6 separate regions of the Homo sapiens genome follow, and regions 1, 2, 3, 4 and 5 are each linked to region 6. The links are contacts of gene promoters, found by promoter capture Hi-C in blood cells and fetal thymus (Javierre and others, 2016). All regions are on one chromosome and are shown on one strand. The core of a region is centred on a gene start or on the middle of the fragment in contact, and the rest is flanking DNA. Distances in the headings are between cores, read along the strand shown.

Region 1 (2,874 bases), core at 6-2,505, 760 kb before region 6:
TAGAGCAGATTTGGGAGTGTGGTAAAGAAGAATAGGGAGGAGGTGTGGCTGGTTGATTTGACTAACTGGGTGCAAGGTGAAGCCCAAGGTACAGGCATACTTGTGATTTTTTTTTTGTTTTTAAGGGTAACTTTCTTCAGGGAGCCTTTTGTGACCCCTACACCAGGTTTCACTGTGCTATGTACTTCCATAGAATCCTTACTTATAAAAAACATGTATTTATATACAATGACTTGCTTAATTGCCTTATTTGCCTTCGTTCTCCAACAGACTAGGCTGTAAATTTCTTGTGGAGAAGGATTATATTATTTATCCTGTATGCTCAACACCAGTTTAGGGCTTGTCAAGTAATGGATGCTCAGTAAATATTTGAGGGAGGAAGGGAAGAAGGAAGTTGGACAAACTGTTGAGAGTTTGGCATTGATATGTATTTTAATGTTAATATCCTTTCATCCCCATTGGTATTTTTAAAAATTAAAGATGGGAGTCATGATTTAGATTTTTTTTTGGTAGCCCAAATGTCCAGAACAGTGCTAACTGATGAGGATAATAAAGCAAGCCCTTGACCTCAAGGAGCTCCCAGTCTGTCGATGGTGTGCAGCTTAAAATGGGAAGCGGGCAGTGGTGTGAGGGAGTTATCACTCCATTTCTCCTTAGGAAAGGAGTCTCTGAAGGAAGTAGAAGGATAAAAAGCAAAAGAAATGAACGGGAATAAAAGTGACAGTGATAAAGTAGGAACTTGATGGGATAAAAATGAATATAGGGTCATGAAAGAGAATGACATTTGAAAAGGAGAAGCACAAAGTTAAGAGTCTTTAGTATCATTTTAATAATAATTCATAATGGTTAAACAAAGACCTGTGTGCCAGGCACTGTTCTCAAACACCTCATGTGTATTATTTCATTTAAATTTCATGACAGTGTATGAAGAAAGTGTTGTTATTTTCACCATTTGACAGATGAGGAACCTGAAACTTCATGTTAAGTAACTTGTAAGTGGTAGTGCATAGACTTTAAATCAGGCAGACTGACACTAGAGTTCACATTCATAACCACTCCTCAAATGTCCTCCTACTCTTGACATCTAGACTCAGGATGGACCTGTGTTACAGGAAGGAGAGGTTGTTATATTTAACAAAAGTGTTCAATTTTTCTTTTTCAGTTGGCTATTCAGTTGTTGCTATCAATCATATCGTTGACTTTAAGGAAAAGAAACAGGTAAAATAATATTTCTAAAGTTAATAAGTTCATAAATAAGTATTTGTAATTCTGTTTGTATTGGTAATTTGGAAGCTACAGATTAGAATATTTCTTAAATGCACCCCTTTGTGCACTACTACTTTTCTATTTTATATAGAAACAGTCGAGCTGATGCATATTTATACAATGATGATTTTTGTGAGGTAATATGACATAGTGTTCAGGATTCTTAAAGGTGATTTGAAATTAAGTTACTTTTCACTGTTCAAAAAGTGCATTGTTATTGGCTGGACTGTAATCAAAATATTTAGTCCTTTTTATTCTATTGTCATGGGCTTATTAACTACTTTCTCTCTTAAACATTACTAATAAGTATGTATATTTCTCTTTAGGCCAACAACTGTATCCTGTAGATTATTTCAGTCTAAAAATTAGTTTTCATTCTTCCTATTCACTGATGTTTACAGTTGCTTCTCTATTTAGCTTTCTTTTTAAAAATAATTTTTAAAAGTTTTTTTGAATACCAGAAATCACCTTGCTTTCTTTTTAAAAAAAATGCATATTTTTTCTGAGAACACCTCGTAATTTTTCCATTATGCCTTGTGCTATTAATGGATACAATCTGCAGTAACTATTTATCGTTTGTTGTAGGAAATTGAAAAACCAGTAGCTGTTTCTGAACTCTTCACAACTTTGCCAATTGTACAGGTAGGTGTTTTGTTGTTTACGAAGCATAATATCTATTTATTCAGTTAAAAGGTACCTAATTATTGTGCTATTCTCTAGCTTGAGCTGCACCTTACTCTGAGTACCAGTCTTAACGTTTTCCTCAAGGCTCAGCTCTTCAGGAAACATTCTTTTACTATCAATTCAGCATTGCTTTGATGATCTTCTTTCCTGAAGTCCTACAATTTTTAAATTATCTCGTTATGTAGTTTAAGATATATACATCTCTTTCTGTGGCTGTATTGTAAATTCCTAGAGAACAAGGACTGGGTTTTATTGATCTTCACTATCCCTTATAGCCAGTACCTTTTAATGAATACTTTCCACTGGTAAAAAGGAAAATCAATTATTGTCTTTTGTGCTTTTTTGACATCATGTCTTTTTTAAATAGGGAAAATCAAGACCAATTAAAATTTTAACTAGATTAACAATTATTGTCTCGGATCCATCTCACTGCAATGTTTTGGTAAGTTAATTATTTTTCTTCTCTCCTTTTGGCTTTGTGAGTTGTATTGATTAATGTTGAACAATGTTGCATTTTGTCTTCCCCATTTTACATTTTCCCTCGCCCCCGCCAAACCATGACACCTGCTTGCTCTCCTTGTCCTCAGAATTCACACAGTGTAATATGTCTGTTCCACTTACTCATGGCACATGTGTAGTGATACCACAATTAAAGAATCCCTTGGCAACTGTTACTCATTGAACTCACGTGCACCAGACTTAAGGTGGGTGCTGGGGGGTATTGCCATGAATAATAGCACAATCCTTGAACTTATAAAGCTTAAAGTTTAATTGGCAAGGCAAGCACTGAACAAATAATAATTACAAATGTAAGGAATGTTCCAAGGTAGGGAAGTGGTAAATAAAGGATGCTCTGGGAGTATGTAACCTGAGTAAGTTGATATTCAAGCTGGGAGACAGAAGAGTCAGTAAATGTTAAATAGG
Region 2 (2,700 bases), core at 188-2,687, 740 kb before region 6:
AATTTTTATGAAATTAACAGGGAATCAGTATATTGTCCCAGTAATCAGCTCCTTACTTTCTTCTCGTCTTTCTCTAAGGCTTTGCTTAATACTTGGAATTTTAGTACCAATGTATCTTGATTCAACTGTCACACACCTGTCCTTAGTAGCATCTTTATGACCATTATTTTTCATTAGTAAAGAAATGTGATCATCCACCCATGCCAGAACCTTTGGTCAGACATGAGAACAAAAGCTAATCAGGCAGGCACTGTTAGGAAGAGGCTGTTAGGAACAATCATTTGATGAGCTTTAGGCAATTTGCATCAAAATGGTCTTACAGCAAGATCCCAGGTAATGAGTCTGTATTTTATCCATCTAAAAATTTAAAATAAGATGCTATGAAAGAAATATTCACAACCTTCAATAGCACATTATTTTTAATTTTTCTTTTTCAAGAATTCCTATAGCAGTTTTAAAGTGAACTTGATTAATGTACCAAGATGAAAATCAGAACTTTTTCCTTAAAAAATAATTATGCTGATAATATCCTTTTTTTCTCCCCTCCCCCCGCAAAAGTTGTTTTTATTTTGATTTGGTACCCACAAGGGTCTAGAAATTTAGATTCAGTCAATTAGGAATATTTCGAGATCTAAGCATCCAACTCTATATATCATTCACCTCTTTCATTTATTTCCCCTCTTCATCATCCTGTTGCCTTGTATTATCGTTCCACAACTAGAAGGATAAGGAAAAGAAATACAGGTCAGCCTCTTCAGCTAATTAGTAGTTTTGGTAAAATATATAGCCAAGGAGATGGCTGATAATATGGCTAAAAGGGATGTTTTTACTTATCTGTGGTTTTTGGTTAGCCAGGTGCACCGAGGTTCCTTTGATGATGGATCATCTATAATGAACAACGTTATCACAGGACATCTTCTCCATAAGCTGCTATTTATTCACTCAAAATATAAATATATTATACACCTTTTATGTAAAAGGCAGTCTAGCTCTCAAGAAGTGTGCAAGCTTGGCAGAGCCAATGAGATACACGTTCAACTAGGACAGAAATACTATCTTAACAAATGTCATTCCCAGAAATAATCAACACAGGTGAAAGAATTAGAGATGGGGAAAAGTCAAAAAATGAGAGAGGGAAAGGTTGCAGTGTGGAAAATAGCATTTAAATTCTAACCAAACTAGAATCAGACATATAGGAAAATCTAAAATAAAATCTGGGAGCCTTGAAGCCGGAGGAAGAATTAAGGAAATCTGTGTTCGGGAGGGAAAAGCAGAAGGGGCCTTCAAGTACAACTGAATTAAATCAAGATGGACTGCCAGTTCTAGAAAAAGACAAGTTTCTCCATTCCCCGTAAATGCTCAGGAGTAAACCCCAGTAGTCACAGCTGGGCCAGTCCCAACTTATACTCTGGGCAATCGAAACTCATTTGCCAAGCAGAGACTTGGACCATACTGCCTAGAACATGCCTACCATTCTTTCTTTATTCTTTTGAAAGAGTACTGCCACTCAAGTGACTTTTGCAATTGAGAGTCTGATTATCATCTCTATGCTGAAAATCCTTCAGATGTTTTCTCCATTAGGAATAATCCTCATCACCAGCTCTAAAGGCCTGCACAGTTGGCCCTTCCCATCCTCTTTAGCCTGTCTTCCTCATTATTTTTCTCCAGCATTTGACCTTCCCTACGTGCTGCCATGCTGCAACCTTGAAGACTTTTGCATGCTCTGACCTCCCTCTGAAAGTGCACCTTCCTCTACTATTTAACTGCTTAATTTCTTCCTCAACCCTAAACTTCTCCTTGATAGCACTTAACACAGTTGAAGTTTTGTATTTTTGTGTGGTTATTGATCATCTCCCCCACTAAAATGTAAGCTTTTAGAAGGGAGAAACCATCTCAGCTTTTGCACGTAGTGGGCTTAAAACATCTTTTGTGAATGGATGCAGACATTTAGGTGCTCATTAGGAAAGCTGAACAGTATGGTGGTTAATTTCAATATCATTTCCACTCATCTACTTACCTGTGGATCCCTCTGTAGTAAGAGTACATTAAATAAAGAAGTTTCTGTTTCTCATGAAAAAAGCCAAGCTTGTATGGTGAGCTGGGCAAAATCTTCAAGGGCACTTCCATCTTTTTTGCTGTGCGGCTATAAGCCCAGTGAAAAATCAGGGGCTTTATTACTAAAGAAAAAGGAGAGGACAGATATCTGGGCAATTTGCAGGCTTTGCAGTAATGCTTTATAAAGGTATTGTAGTAAGGATTAAATATTATATATAAGACTCTCTTAGCATATAGTCAGCACTCAATTAACTATGGCTGTTATTCTCTCTTCAACATATAGAGAATAAATTACTTACCTGAAAGACCTTCCTGCCCTTGGTTCTTTGGGCTTTTTTCAGCTCTTCATTTCTTTGTCTCTTTGTGCATTCATAGGTCAGATTACTTGGTTTACTATGTTTGTATACAGTTTACTGTAAATGTAGGGAGTACATTTCTGTTTTCCTTTTGATAGTTCATGGAGTAGTAGCCCCTCTCTCACGCCATTGGGACTTTGTTCTTCTTAGCCTCTTCATAATTCCTGTTTATGTAAAGTCAGCTTCCCCACAGCCAAGTTAAACTCTCTTAATCAAGTAGAGCCACGGATTTATTTTCTTCTCCTTGTGGGTGGTGCCATTTGAGTGTTGATCTGTCTTTCATAAAGCT
Region 3 (2,915 bases), core at 379-2,878, 720 kb before region 6:
CCTCATTATTCCTTTAATATTCATCTCTTCCAGGAGGGCATGTCATGGACAATCTCTTTTTCTTACCACAGGTCTTAGGACCTGGCCTAGCACCTGGCCAAGAACTACTGGCATACCTCCTTTTATTGTGCTTCAATTTATTGTGCTTTGCAAATACTGAATTTTTTACAAGTTGAAGATTTGTGGCACCTCTGTAACCAGCAAGTCTATTGGTGCCATTTTTTCAACATCATGTGCCTGTTTCCTGTCTCGCTCATGTCACATTTTGGTAATTTTCACAATATTAAAAACTTTTTCATTATTATTATATGTGTTTTGTTGGTTAGTGTTCTTTGATTTTACTATTATAACTGTTTTAGGTAGCCACAAATTGCACTCATATCGGACAGTGAACTTAATCCATGAATGTTGTGTGTGTTCTGACTCCTCCATCGACCAGCTTTCCCCATTTCCTTCCCTCTCTTCAGGCCTCCCCATTCCTTGAAACAAAACAATATTGAAATTAGGCCAATTAATAACCCTACAATGGCCTCTAAGTGTTCAAGTGAAAGGAAGAACCACACATCTCTCTCAATCAAAAGCTAGGAATGATTAAGCTTATTGAGAAAGGCATGTAGAAAGCCAAGATAGGCTGAAAACTATGCCTCTCACTCAAGTTGTGAATGCAAAGGAAAAGTTCTTGAAGGAAATTAAAGGTGCTTCTCCAGTGAACACACAAATGATAAAGCAAAACAGCTCTATTGCTGAATGGAGAAAGTTTTTGTGGTCTGGATAGAACACCAAACCAGTTACAATAATGCCTTAATCCAAAGCCTAATCCAGAGGCCCTAACTCTTCAATGCTATGAATGCTGAGAAGTGAGGAAGCTGCTGAAAACAGTTGGAGAACTGCAGCGGAAGTTGGTTCATAAGATTTGAGGAAAGAAGCCATCTCTGTAACATAAAAGTGCAAGGTGAAGCACAAGTGCTGATAGAAGAAAGAAGCTGCAGCGAGTTATCCAGAAGATCTAGCTAAGATAACTGATTAACATGGCTACACTGAGCAACAGATTTTCAATGTAGATGAAACAGCCTTCTATTGGAAGATGCCATGTAGGACTTTGATAGCTAGAGAGGAGAAGTCAATGCCTGGCTTCAAAGCTTCAAAGCTTTGACTCCCTTGTTAGCTGGTGATTTTAAGTTGAAACCAATGCTCATTGACCATTCTGAAAATCCTAGGGTTGTTAAGAATTATGCTAAATCTACTTTGCCTGTGCTCTATAAATTGTACCACAAATCCTTGATGATAGCACATCTTTTTACATCATAGTTTATTGAATATTTTAAGCCCATCATTGAAACCTACTGTTCAGGAAAAAAAAATATTCCTTTCACAACATTACTGCTAATTGAAAATGCACCTGGTCACCCAAGACTGATGGAGACGTGCATCTGATGAGGATGTACAAGGAGATGAATGTTATTCTCATACCTGCTTACACAACATCCATTCTGTAGCCCATGGATCAAGGAGTCATTTTGAATCAAGTCTTATTAAGAAACACATTTCATAAGGCTATATGCCGTAGATAACGATTCCTTTGATGGATCTGGGCAAAATAAATTCAAAACCTTCTGGAAAGGATTCACCATGCTAGATGCCATTAAGAACATTCGTGGGTCATTGGAGGAGGTAAAAATATCATTAACTGGAATTTGAAAGAAGTTAATTCCAACCTGTGTGAATGACTTGGAGGGGTTCAAGACTTCGGTGGAGTAAGTAACTGTTGATGTGGTGGAAATAGCAAGAAAACTAAAAGTGGAGCCTGAACATGTGACTGAATTGTTGCAATCTTGTCATAAAACTTGAACAGCTGAGAAGTTGCTTCCTATGGATGAGCAAAGGAAGTGGTTTCTTGAGATGGAATCTACTCCTAGTGAAGATGCTGTAAACATTGTTGAAATGACAAAAAAAGGATTTTGAATATTACATCAACTTAGTTAATAAAGCAGTAACAGGGTTTGCGAGGATGTACTCCAATTTTGAAAGATGTTCTATTGATAGTAACATGCTATCAAATAGCATCAGATGCTACAGATAAATCTTTTATGAAAGAGTTAATTGATGTGGTAAGCTTATTGTTGTCTTCTTTCAATAAATTGACACAGCCATCCCAATCTTCATCAACTACCACCCTCATCAGTCAGCAGCCATCCACATGGAGGGAAGACCCTCCGCCATTAAAACGATTATGACTCACTGAAGGCTCAGATGATCATTAGCATTTTTTTTAGCAATAAAGTATTTTTAAGTTAAGGTAGGTACAGTGTTTTTTAGACATCGTGCTATAGCACAATTATTAAACCACAGGATAATGTAAACATAACTTTTGTATGCACTAGAAAACCAAAAAAAATTGTGACTCACTTTATTGTGATATTAGTTTTATTATGGTGGTCTGGAGGTCAAAAATCATGGACCTGTGTGTTCTCTCCTGGGAAGTCTTTGACATTGCCAGTCCCTGTCCACAAGAATTGTTAAATCTCCAGTTAATTTGCATTTTTCTAATGATCAGTGATATTGAGCTTTCTTTTCCAGATGTTTGTTGGCCACATGAATATCTTCTTTTGAGAAGTGTCTGTTCGTGTGCTTTGCCCACTTTTTTGATGGGGTTGTTTTTTCTTGTAAATTTAAGTTCCTTGTAGATTCTGGATGTTAGAGCTTTGTCAGATGGATGGAGTCTGAATGGCAGTTACTTAAAAAGTCAAGAAATAACAGATGCTGGCAAGGTTGCAGAAAAATAGGAACACTTTTACACTGTTGGTGGGAATGTAAATTAGTTCATCCATTGTGGAAAATGGTGTGGTGATTCCTCAAAGATCTAGAACCAGAAATACCATTTGACCTAGCAATCCCATTATTGGGTATGTACCCAA
Region 4 (2,938 bases), core at 328-2,827, 610 kb before region 6:
AGAGAGTTAATTCACTCAATTCATCCACCTAGAATAAAAAGAAATAACATTTGCATTTAAAACACAACTGTCATAAGCAATGGATGTTGCTTTCAAACCCTTAATACAAGTGGAAAAATTTTGAAAACCTTGCTACTCAGAGTGTGGTCCATGGACCAGCAGCGTGAGCATCACCCAGGAGCTTGCTAGAATGAGAAAAGCAGAATCTCAGATCCTATCCCACATCCACTAAACCAGAATGTGCCTTCCCAGGTGATTTGTCTGCATGTTCAAGTTTGAGAAGGAGAGCTGTTGAAAACATTCAGAAATTATGACATGACTGATACTTTGAGAAGTTCTCTAAGGATCAGACAGCAGAGGAGCAAAACTAGTCTGTCTGGAAGAAATCATCAGTTGATTAGTGAAACATCAATCAGGGATTAATCAAGGATTTGAAAGAGAACAGGAACCTGGCAGCTAGGGAAACAGTGTAAGAGGCTGAATCTAAGAAGCAAGCATAATCTTACAAAAGCAAGATAGACCAGACTTCAACTTTCAGAAGCATAGTCTTTACTGGAAATTCTTTATCCCACTTGCTGATTGCAGGAAACAGTCACTTCCAGCAAGGTAAGGGGTGGTAGGAATGTGGTTGGCAGGAAGTCCCTTTGGGGACTTTGCAGGCAGGAACCTCCCTCTGTGACAGAGGGACATTGCTGTTATCTCAGGCTAGGCTGGCCTCCATACTAGCAGGCCTGGGCTACCTGTGCTTACACCTCTTCCTTCTTCACTCAGCCTCAGCATCACTGTGCCATATGGTCAGGCCTCCAAAATCTGCCTTAGCTGTATTCCTCCGTCGTCTTTCTTTTAAAGGTTGAATTTCATCAGGATTTATTTGAAACTCTTGTTTAAAAGCCTGATTCTTGCCCTCCCAACTCCAAGTCCTCAAGGGACCTGATAGTGAAGGTCCAGGATGGGATCTAGAAAATACATTTGTAATAAGCACCATATGTGATTTTGCTGCAGATGTTTCCAGACTAGATTTGCAGAAGCAGCCTTCCTTCAGTCGCACTCCTTTGCTGCTCAGAGTCTTACCAATTGAGAGGTGAGGATATGGAGACTCTCAGATACATGCTGGATCCTTTGTAATATCTACTCCCTCTCTAACTTCTCCTTTGCAGCGTCAGTTTTCCAGACTATGTTCTTCTTCCCTACTCCTTCATCACTTTTTCCCTCTGCCCTCACTGCCTTCCAGTGACCTTCAGACAGGTACAGGCTACCCATCCACAAATATTCAGCCCTCACCAACTCTCACCCACTCTAAATTCCTCTAACATGGTCTCTTTCTTGCTATCTCCAATTCCACTTGTGGAATTCTCCTCTGGATTCCAGCCAGCTTGTACTCTTCTCTTCTACAGTTTCTCCAGGTCTCCAATTACTTCTTTGAGGGCATATTAAAAAGCCTCTTTATGCTTCTCCTCCTTGACCGCACAGCTGCATCTGCCACTGCCAATCACCCTCTTCTCTGAGCACCCTAGCACTGCTGGGATGGGCATGTTCAAGGCTGCATCACACTTTGCCTTTCGACAGAATCAATGAGCCTGGCTCCTGTACTGTAGATAGATCTCAGGATTCAGCAGGTGTTCCTTCTCACTGCCTCAGGTGCTTCCTTTAATCCTCTGGAAATTGTAATACTGCTGGGGAAGCCTAAAAGCTAAACTATCTTCACAATCGACTGTATTAGGACTGTTTGAAGATCTGATCTTACAGTCAGGACTGGCTACATGGTTTGCAAGGGCCAGTGCAAAAAGAAAATGTGGACCCTTTGTTTAAAAGGTCTTAAGAAATTTCCAGATGATGGTAGCAGAACTTAAACCAGGGGGAGGGCTTTTTATTTTTAAGTGCAGAGCCTGTGTGACTTCGTAGATCACATGCTCAGGAAGCTGGCTCTGCTGATGGTTGACCCAGCCTGTTAGCTTGGTGACCCTCAGGACCAGATAAGTTAGTGAGAACATGGTTAAAATTCAGATAAACTCATAGCTCACATTCCCAATATACCAGCTAGTTTTCCCAGTGCAACACCCTCCAGGGTCACAGTCTTCACTTCTCACTTCTGTAGGTTCCAACATGGGCCTCGTCATCACCAGAAGGACAGGGGAGCATGAGAATGACACAGCACAGCTACTCACCAAAAGGATGGGGAAGAAACAGCCCAACAGGGCAGGTCAGAAGCATCATCATCGTTGTTTTCATAATTGGAGTACCGAATAGTATAAAACTCAATCCTAAATGCTGTGCTCTAGCTCTTCCCCATTTCCAGCCCCTAAACCCCACAAGACCAGACTGGAGACAGAAACTGGAATCCAAGCAGCAACAAGCCTCCCTGCTTTCTTTGGGGCAGAGCCAAAAAGAGATAAAGAACGTGTTGTATTAGGCAGCAGTAAACAGGCAAGGGACAAGCAGGCCTTTAATAAAACAGACCTTTATTGGGGCTAAAATGGCCCAGGGCTGACCCTACCCTAAATCCTGGCAGTGTCCAACGACAGGAATTCAGAGGAACAAAAACGCTGGCATTGCCTGCTGCATCCCATGCATACATAACAGAAAGCACTGCAGAACCTCACAAGCAAGGAATACATAAATGCCATTATCCAGTCTTTCAGCCAAAACTTATTTTTTAGTCTGGACGACTATGCTATTCTGCTTTCTCTGCCTCCAATTTCTGTCCTGTGACTCACAGGGAGGGCTTTGGGGAAATGAAATATCCCAAGACCTAAAATAGGTCCTTCTCCCTCCCTCTAATATCAGGATGAGTTTCCTAAGGCATTTGTTTCTTCCTTAATTAACCAGGCATGAATGATAATATTGCCTGGGTTGAAGAACTCATCTCTGTCACTGGTAAATATAAATAACGAGCCCTGTTCATAGAAAAGCGTGCCAGAATTTCATTGATTAACATCCC
Region 5 (2,797 bases), core at 275-2,774, 640 kb before region 6:
AACTTTGTGCTCATCCTCTAGAATAAGTATTTTACACCTAAATTTATCTATGTATTAATGTACTAATATGTACATAATACAACATATGTAAAATAAAAAAAATGACTACGTATATGAAAAAGTTTTAAAATCAAAATAAAAAGCATTTGCTTTTGCTAAATTGTTATTAGTTATAATTAATAATATTTTAAAGAGTTAAATGTAGATATTAATGCTTCATTGATTTTAAAATATCTTGATTTAACATTTAATTTGACACTGCTTTAACATAAAGCAATAGGAAGATCTGGGTTTATGTTTGGCTTATTTTGATGCTGGTTTCAGTGGCAATAATTGCCAATAACAAAAAGTTTAATTACCTCACAAAGGCGTGTGAATACAAATAAGAAAAGCAATAGCTGCACTTACTAAGTCATGATGCTTATTTTTTAAAATCCCATTTACCAACTGTACCAACGTTTTTCTTTAAAGTCAGCTATTATATTTCTGTTTCCCTTTATGTCAATCAATTCTTGTGACAAACAATTTGGAATTTGTTGCATTTTTACATATTTAAAAAATGTGTTCAACCCACTAAAACTCTGAAACATTTAGAAGCATTATAGACAGATTAGAAAATTCTGTTTCTAAATTTTTTTGTGTTTTTTTTTTGCAAATATGAAAAAATGCTCAACATCACTAATGATCAGGGAAATATAAATCAAAACCACATTGTGATATCACCTTTCTCCTGCAAGAATAGCTATTAAAAAAAAAAAGATGTTGGCGTGGATGTAGGGAAAAGGGAACACTTCTACACTGCTGGTGGGAATGTAAACTAGTACAACCAATATGGAAAACAGTGTGGAGATTCCTTAAAGAATTAAAAGTAGATCTACCACTTGAATCAGCAATCTCGCTACTGGGTATCTACCCAGAGGAAAAGAAGTCATTATTTGTAAAAGATATTTGCACACACGTCTACAGCAGCACAATTCGCAACTGCAAAAATATGGAACCAGCCCAAATGCCCATCAAGCAACGAATGGTTAAAGAAGTTATGGTGAATACTACTCAGCCATAAAAAGGAACAAATTAATGGCATTCTCAGCGACCTGGATGGAACTGGAGACTATTTTTCTAAATGAAGTAACCCAGGAATGGAAAACCAAACATTGTACGCTCTCACTCGTAAGTGGGAGCTAAGCTATGAGGATGCAAAAGCATATGAATGATACAATGGATTTTGGGGACTTGGGGAAAAGGGTGGGAGGGGGTTGAGGGATAAAATAATACAAATTGGGTGTAGTGTATACTGCTTAGGTGATGGATGCACCACAATCTCACAAATCACCACTAAATGACTTACTCATGTAACCAAACACCACCTGTTCTTTAAAAACCTATGGAAATAAAACATTTTAAGAAATATATGCAAACATGAGGCCTGTGACATCCTTACATTGTTTTGGTGACCAAAAAAAACCACATAATTATGGAAAATGTTTGACATCCCTAACAGCAGGAACTACTTTTGTTAAGTTTCTGTGTCACTTTAGGCAAAATGCTTCCATTCTGTGTACCAGTTTTCCTCATGTGAAAAACAAGAGGGCTGGCAGATGAGTTCTGAATGTCCTACCAGCCCTAAGGTGCTCAGATGCATTCCTAACCTGCCCTAGCAGAGCCCAGCAGAAAACACAGGCTCTTGGGTAGATCCTGTTACATGAAACATTGCACATGCCCATGGTGGAATACTGTGCAGCCATGAAGAAATAAGGACACTCGGTATGTGCTGGTCTGGATGGAGTTCCAACGTATCATTTAAAGAAAACAGCAAAGCAAAGAAGAGTATGTAAAATGGGATCCCTTTTGTATACTTTTTTTTAAAAAAAAGAACAGATGGATAAATGGATATGGAGTTGCTGGTATAAACACTTTTGGGTACAGAGATTTAGTGGTTAACAGTTAAGAATGGTTGACAGTTATGAGAAGAGAAGTTAAGGCATGGAAGCTCGCTCTTAGTCACTCTCTTTTTTCTTTGCACTTTTAAAAAATATTTGAGGCCAGGAGTGATGGCTCTCACCTGTAATCCTAGCACTTTGGGAGGCTGAGGCAGGTGGATCACTTGAGATCAGGAGTTCAAGACCAGCCTGGACAACATGGCAATACCCCATCTCCACTAAAAATACAAAAATTAGCCAGGCATGGTAGCAGGTGCCTGTAATCCCAGCTACTCGGGAGGCCGAGGCAGGAGAATCATTTGAACCCAGGAGGTGGAGGTTGCAGTGGGCCGAGATCATGCCACTGCACTCCAGCCTGGGTGACAGAGTGAGACCTTGTCTCAAAAAAAAAATTTTTTTTGAATGGTGTAACTCAGCATGTATAATACTATATACATATATATGTATATGTATGTTGTATATGTATGCATGTGTATATATATTTCAGATATCATATATACTATATATATGTATATATCAGCAGGAGTTTTCACAACAGGGACACTGAACATCATTTTTTTCTGCTTTATTTTCTTACTTCTACTTTTCTATTTAAAAAACTTGTAAAGAAAAAAGAAGTAAAAGACTAAAGTCCTCATAATATACCTGTATTCATTGGCTAGGACTGCTGTAACAAAGTACTACAAACCGGGGGTCTTAAACAACAAAACCGTATAGTCTCACAGTTCTGGAAGCTAAAAGTCTGAACTCGAAGTGTCAGCAGGGCTGGTTTCTTCTGAGTGCTGTGAAGGGGAATTTGTTCCAGGCCTCCTTCCTTGGCATGGGGATGACCATCTTCTCCCCGTGTCCCTTCCCAT
Region 6 (3,082 bases), core at 95-2,594:
AGTGGAAAAACTGATTACCTGAAAGTTGGAGTGTTTTAAAATATACATTTTATATATACAAACTTATAAATATTGAAAAACTCTATAGGAAATACACCTTTCCTAATAATTTAATAATTATTATTTCTGGGTGATAGGATTATAGATTATCTATTTTCGTTTTTGTTCTTTTTTGGCATTTTCTAATAGACATTTATAAGTAGAAAGACAATAAAACCATTTAAAGTTTTAAACATGACTATGCTCAGCAATATTAAACCAAGAAGCATCTATAAAGAAGACTTTTCTCTGACCTTTAGCCCTCATCATATATTTCCAAGCTTATGGTATTAAGATTTTTTTCCCTATCTTAGCCTTACAAGTAAGAGGTGTGTGTATACTGTACACGACATTTCTCAGTCTGGCTTTAGTAACTCTCCTCACAGCAGCTCTAAACATGTATGCAAGTGGTCATTATCACAAAAGTGTGTAATAACACTCGCAGAATTTACTGTGTTAGCTCTGGGGTTTTTCTGGGAGATCTGCAAACTTAGAACAAACAAATGAAAGCTAAAGCTATATTTGTGGGTCTAATAATAGTTAATAGGCAGGATTTTTAGAGAAGTCTTCTGCTAAGCTATGTCTGGAGAAGCTATTTAAAGTAGTTTTATGGGAGGTTTTTTTTGGTTTTTTTGTTTTTTTTTTTTTACTTTTTGCATTTATAGAAAGACAGTTTTAGTTTGGGTGATTTCCTTGGAACTTTAAGTCCTGGACAAGAGTTAAAAGTAATCGTTTGCTCAAACTCTTGAGATTTTGCTATGGCAAACTGTGATAAGAAGGACGAATGAATGCAAACGTCGTCCTGTAATTTTTTTCCTCCAAGCTAAACCACCTAACCAGCAATGTCAGAGTGCTGTTCTCACCACTTCAGCTGCCCGAGTCTTTGGGACATTTGTGCAGGACCAAAAGAACAGCCGCATCCATGAGAAAATCCTAACTCAAGCTGATTCACGTTAAGATAATTTCTGCTTTAAGATGCTGATTACTAAAATAGGCTCTGCTTAAGAAATAGAGCCAAATTTCTACACCTCCAAGGCCTCTCGGTTGCCAGATTCAACTACGCAGTCAGTCCACTTGTCCTCCCCCTGGGGTGTCCATTTCCAGAGATGATAGAACTGAAACGCCCCCCAACTTCCCCACAGCTGCGCGTTCCCCTGTGTTCCTAGCGCGCAGAGTTGCAGCGAACCTACCTGGTGCAGCTCATTAGGCAGAGAGGCGGCGGACCCTAAAAGCCAGCACCCGCTGCCTGCACAAATTCGAACCACAGCTCCAGGCCTTGCCCCCGCGGCGGTCGCTGGGAGAGACTGAGGGCCCGGCGCCTAGAGGCCGCTTATCTGCTCCCAAGCACGTGACCCGATCCCTGGGACCAATCGCCGGGCCTCGAGCCCCAGGGCGCGACCAACCAGCGCCCAGCTGGGGCGCCAGCCCTCGCCCCGGCAACGTGATCGCCCCGGGGCGAGACGTGCAGAGAGCTATCTGGGCATCGCGGGGAGGTTCTGGGACTCCGCGGCCAGCTGGAACCAGCCGCGTAACGGGAACCCTGGGCTAGGGGCCGGGCAGGCACGTACCGCATGCAGCGGGCGCCGGCCAAGAGAGAGCGCAGCCAGCCTCGCCCAGGCGGGGCGCCAGTGCCTCAGGCTTGGGGCGGCTGTTACTTGGGAATAGCTTTGTGGGTCACTGCGGGTGAATCTGCACACAGAAGATGTGGCTCAAACCGAATGTGTATCGCATTTGAAATGTTTATATCGTTCATTACCCGGTGTATCCGCATTTCTCCCTCACCTTAGCCTGCGCGATCCCAAACTGGCTGCATGCTTTTCGATTAGTATGAGTTCACAGATGCACCACACAGTAGACAGCTGCCGGGAATTACCAACTTATCTAACAAATGTTGTTAGGAAAGCATACGAGCCCCATAAAACACCAAGGTGGCATTTAATTAAAAGACACTTCGTATTTCTGTCTATTCTTCAATTTTCTCCCCTGCGGGGAACACTAAAGCCGGAAGTGAAATGACCCTTTTCACACATACAGCCGGTCAAGAGGCAGCAGTCAACCCAAACCCCTTACTCAATTCTGACGTCCTTTGGCAGTGGTGTGGAAATCAAAATGTTAAAATAAAATTTAAAAAATCACGCCGTATGTTTCATGGGCCTTCTGAGCCACTCACTTTCGCTGAAGTTTCATTATTTTGATTAGTTTGAAGAATTTTTAGACCATCATTTACAACTGTAAAATTAAATGTCTAAGTCAAGTCTAAATTATTTTTATAAAACCCACATCCTAGTTTTGCTCCCCTAATTGAGCTATCCATTAGTCAATTAAAATATACAAAAATTCCTATGTCTTTTAAACAACTGTCAAACAGTGGAATTGTTAAAATTATTAGAGTGAAGAAAAAAATCACACTGAATATCACTGGGAAAGGGACTTCATGCCTGGGTTTTATTTTTGAAATGAAATATCTAACTAATGGCAGGTCTTCTAGCCCCTTTAGCTCAACCAAAACTAGCTGGAAGGTCTTTGGATTGACACTTACTAGCTACACGAATCTAGGCAAGTTCTAACCTCAGTTTCCTCATGTGTAAAACAGAGATAGTAACGTTCTGAAGATGAAGTAAGATGGTGCCAATGAACAGACTCAGCACGATGCCCAGTGCCTGTGTTCCACCCGGGCTAGTTCCCAAGTTTCTACTTGATCTCTCAGCTAGAGTTTTTACTCTATCACCTCAAGGCGCCTGGTGCCTGAGCTAAAATATTGAGAATAGCTGCTGCTTGTTGAGCCTTTACTCTGTGCCAAACACTATGTGCTATCAATTCAATCCTCACAACAACCCTATGTGATATGTCCAATTATTAATCCCATTTTAGAGAAAAGAAAACGGAGACACTGAATGGTCAGGAAATCTGCCCAGTGGATCACTTGAGGCCAGGAGTTCAAGACCAGCCTGGCCAACATGGTGAAACCCTATCTCTACTAAAAATACAAAAATTAGCCGGGCATGGTGGTGCACACCTGTACTCTCAGCTACTCTGGAGGCTG

Evidence for each region. Contacts are between HindIII fragments. The CHiCAGO score rates a contact against its expected background, and 5 or more counts as called.
Region 1: a fragment that was not itself captured here is called in contact with the fragment with the promoter of PPP1R3C in region 6 in 3 of 17 cell types (fetal thymus, endothelial precursors and megakaryocytes); the score reaches 12.5 in fetal thymus.
Region 2: a contact is called between a fragment that was not itself captured here and the fragment with the promoter of PPP1R3C in region 6, in 3 of 17 cell types (fetal thymus, endothelial precursors and naive CD4 T cells). The highest score is 9.9, in fetal thymus.
Region 3: a contact is called between a fragment that was not itself captured here and the fragment with the promoter of PPP1R3C in region 6, in 5 of 17 cell types (naive B cells, total CD8 T cells, total B cells and 2 more). The highest score is 7.1, in naive B cells.
Region 4: a contact is called between a fragment that was not itself captured here and the fragment with the promoter of PPP1R3C in region 6, in 1 of 17 cell types (total CD8 T cells). The highest score is 5.0, in total CD8 T cells.
Region 5: a contact is called between a fragment that was not itself captured here and the fragment with the promoter of PPP1R3C in region 6, in 2 of 17 cell types (total CD4 T cells and naive CD4 T cells). The highest score is 6.0, in total CD4 T cells.

The regions. Positions count from the first base shown.
Region 1 is chr10:90,873,707-90,876,580 of GRCh38, forward strand. RPP30 (ribonuclease P/MRP subunit p30) reads left to right here. Exons shown (of 11, transcript NM_006413.5): 2 at 1,163-1,218; 3 at 1,852-1,908; 4 at 2,318-2,392. Among named protein-coding and RNA genes, the nearest start is that of RPP30, 3.2 kb to the left of the region's middle. The HindIII fragment of the contact is 2,904 bases long and covers 1-2,707 here.
Region 2 is chr10:90,891,954-90,894,653 of GRCh38, forward strand. All of the region lies in intron 6 of RPP30 (ribonuclease P/MRP subunit p30), which reads left to right. Among named protein-coding and RNA genes, the nearest start is that of RPP30, 21 kb to the left of the region's middle. The HindIII fragment of the contact is 863 bases long and covers 1,007-1,869 here.
Region 3 is chr10:90,908,250-90,911,164 of GRCh38, forward strand. It overlaps a transcript of RPP30 not described here. Among named protein-coding and RNA genes, the nearest start is that of ANKRD1, 11 kb to the right of the region's middle. The HindIII fragment of the contact is 966 bases long and covers 1,146-2,111 here.
Region 4 is chr10:91,021,158-91,024,095 of GRCh38, forward strand. It overlaps LOC124902479 (a long non-coding RNA gene), which reads right to left and starts at 2,321. Exons shown (of 2, transcript XR_007062238.1): 1 at 2,166-2,321. The HindIII fragment of the contact is 3,179 bases long and covers 1-2,938 here.
Region 5 is chr10:90,994,989-90,997,785 of GRCh38, forward strand. LOC124902479 (a long non-coding RNA gene) reads right to left here. Exons shown (of 2, transcript XR_007062238.1): 2 at 2,491-2,797. Among named protein-coding and RNA genes, the nearest start is that of XLOC_008559, 49 kb to the left of the region's middle. The HindIII fragment of the contact is 4,314 bases long and covers 1-2,797 here.
Region 6 is chr10:91,631,727-91,634,808 of GRCh38, forward strand. It overlaps PPP1R3C (protein phosphatase 1 regulatory subunit 3C), which reads right to left and starts at 1,345. Exons shown (of 2, transcript NM_005398.7): 1 at 1,230-1,345. The coding sequence starts at 1,243. RefSeq lists enhancers at 976-1,477, 1,478-1,977 and a silencer at 1,312-1,451. The HindIII fragment of the contact is 3,050 bases long and covers 319-3,082 here.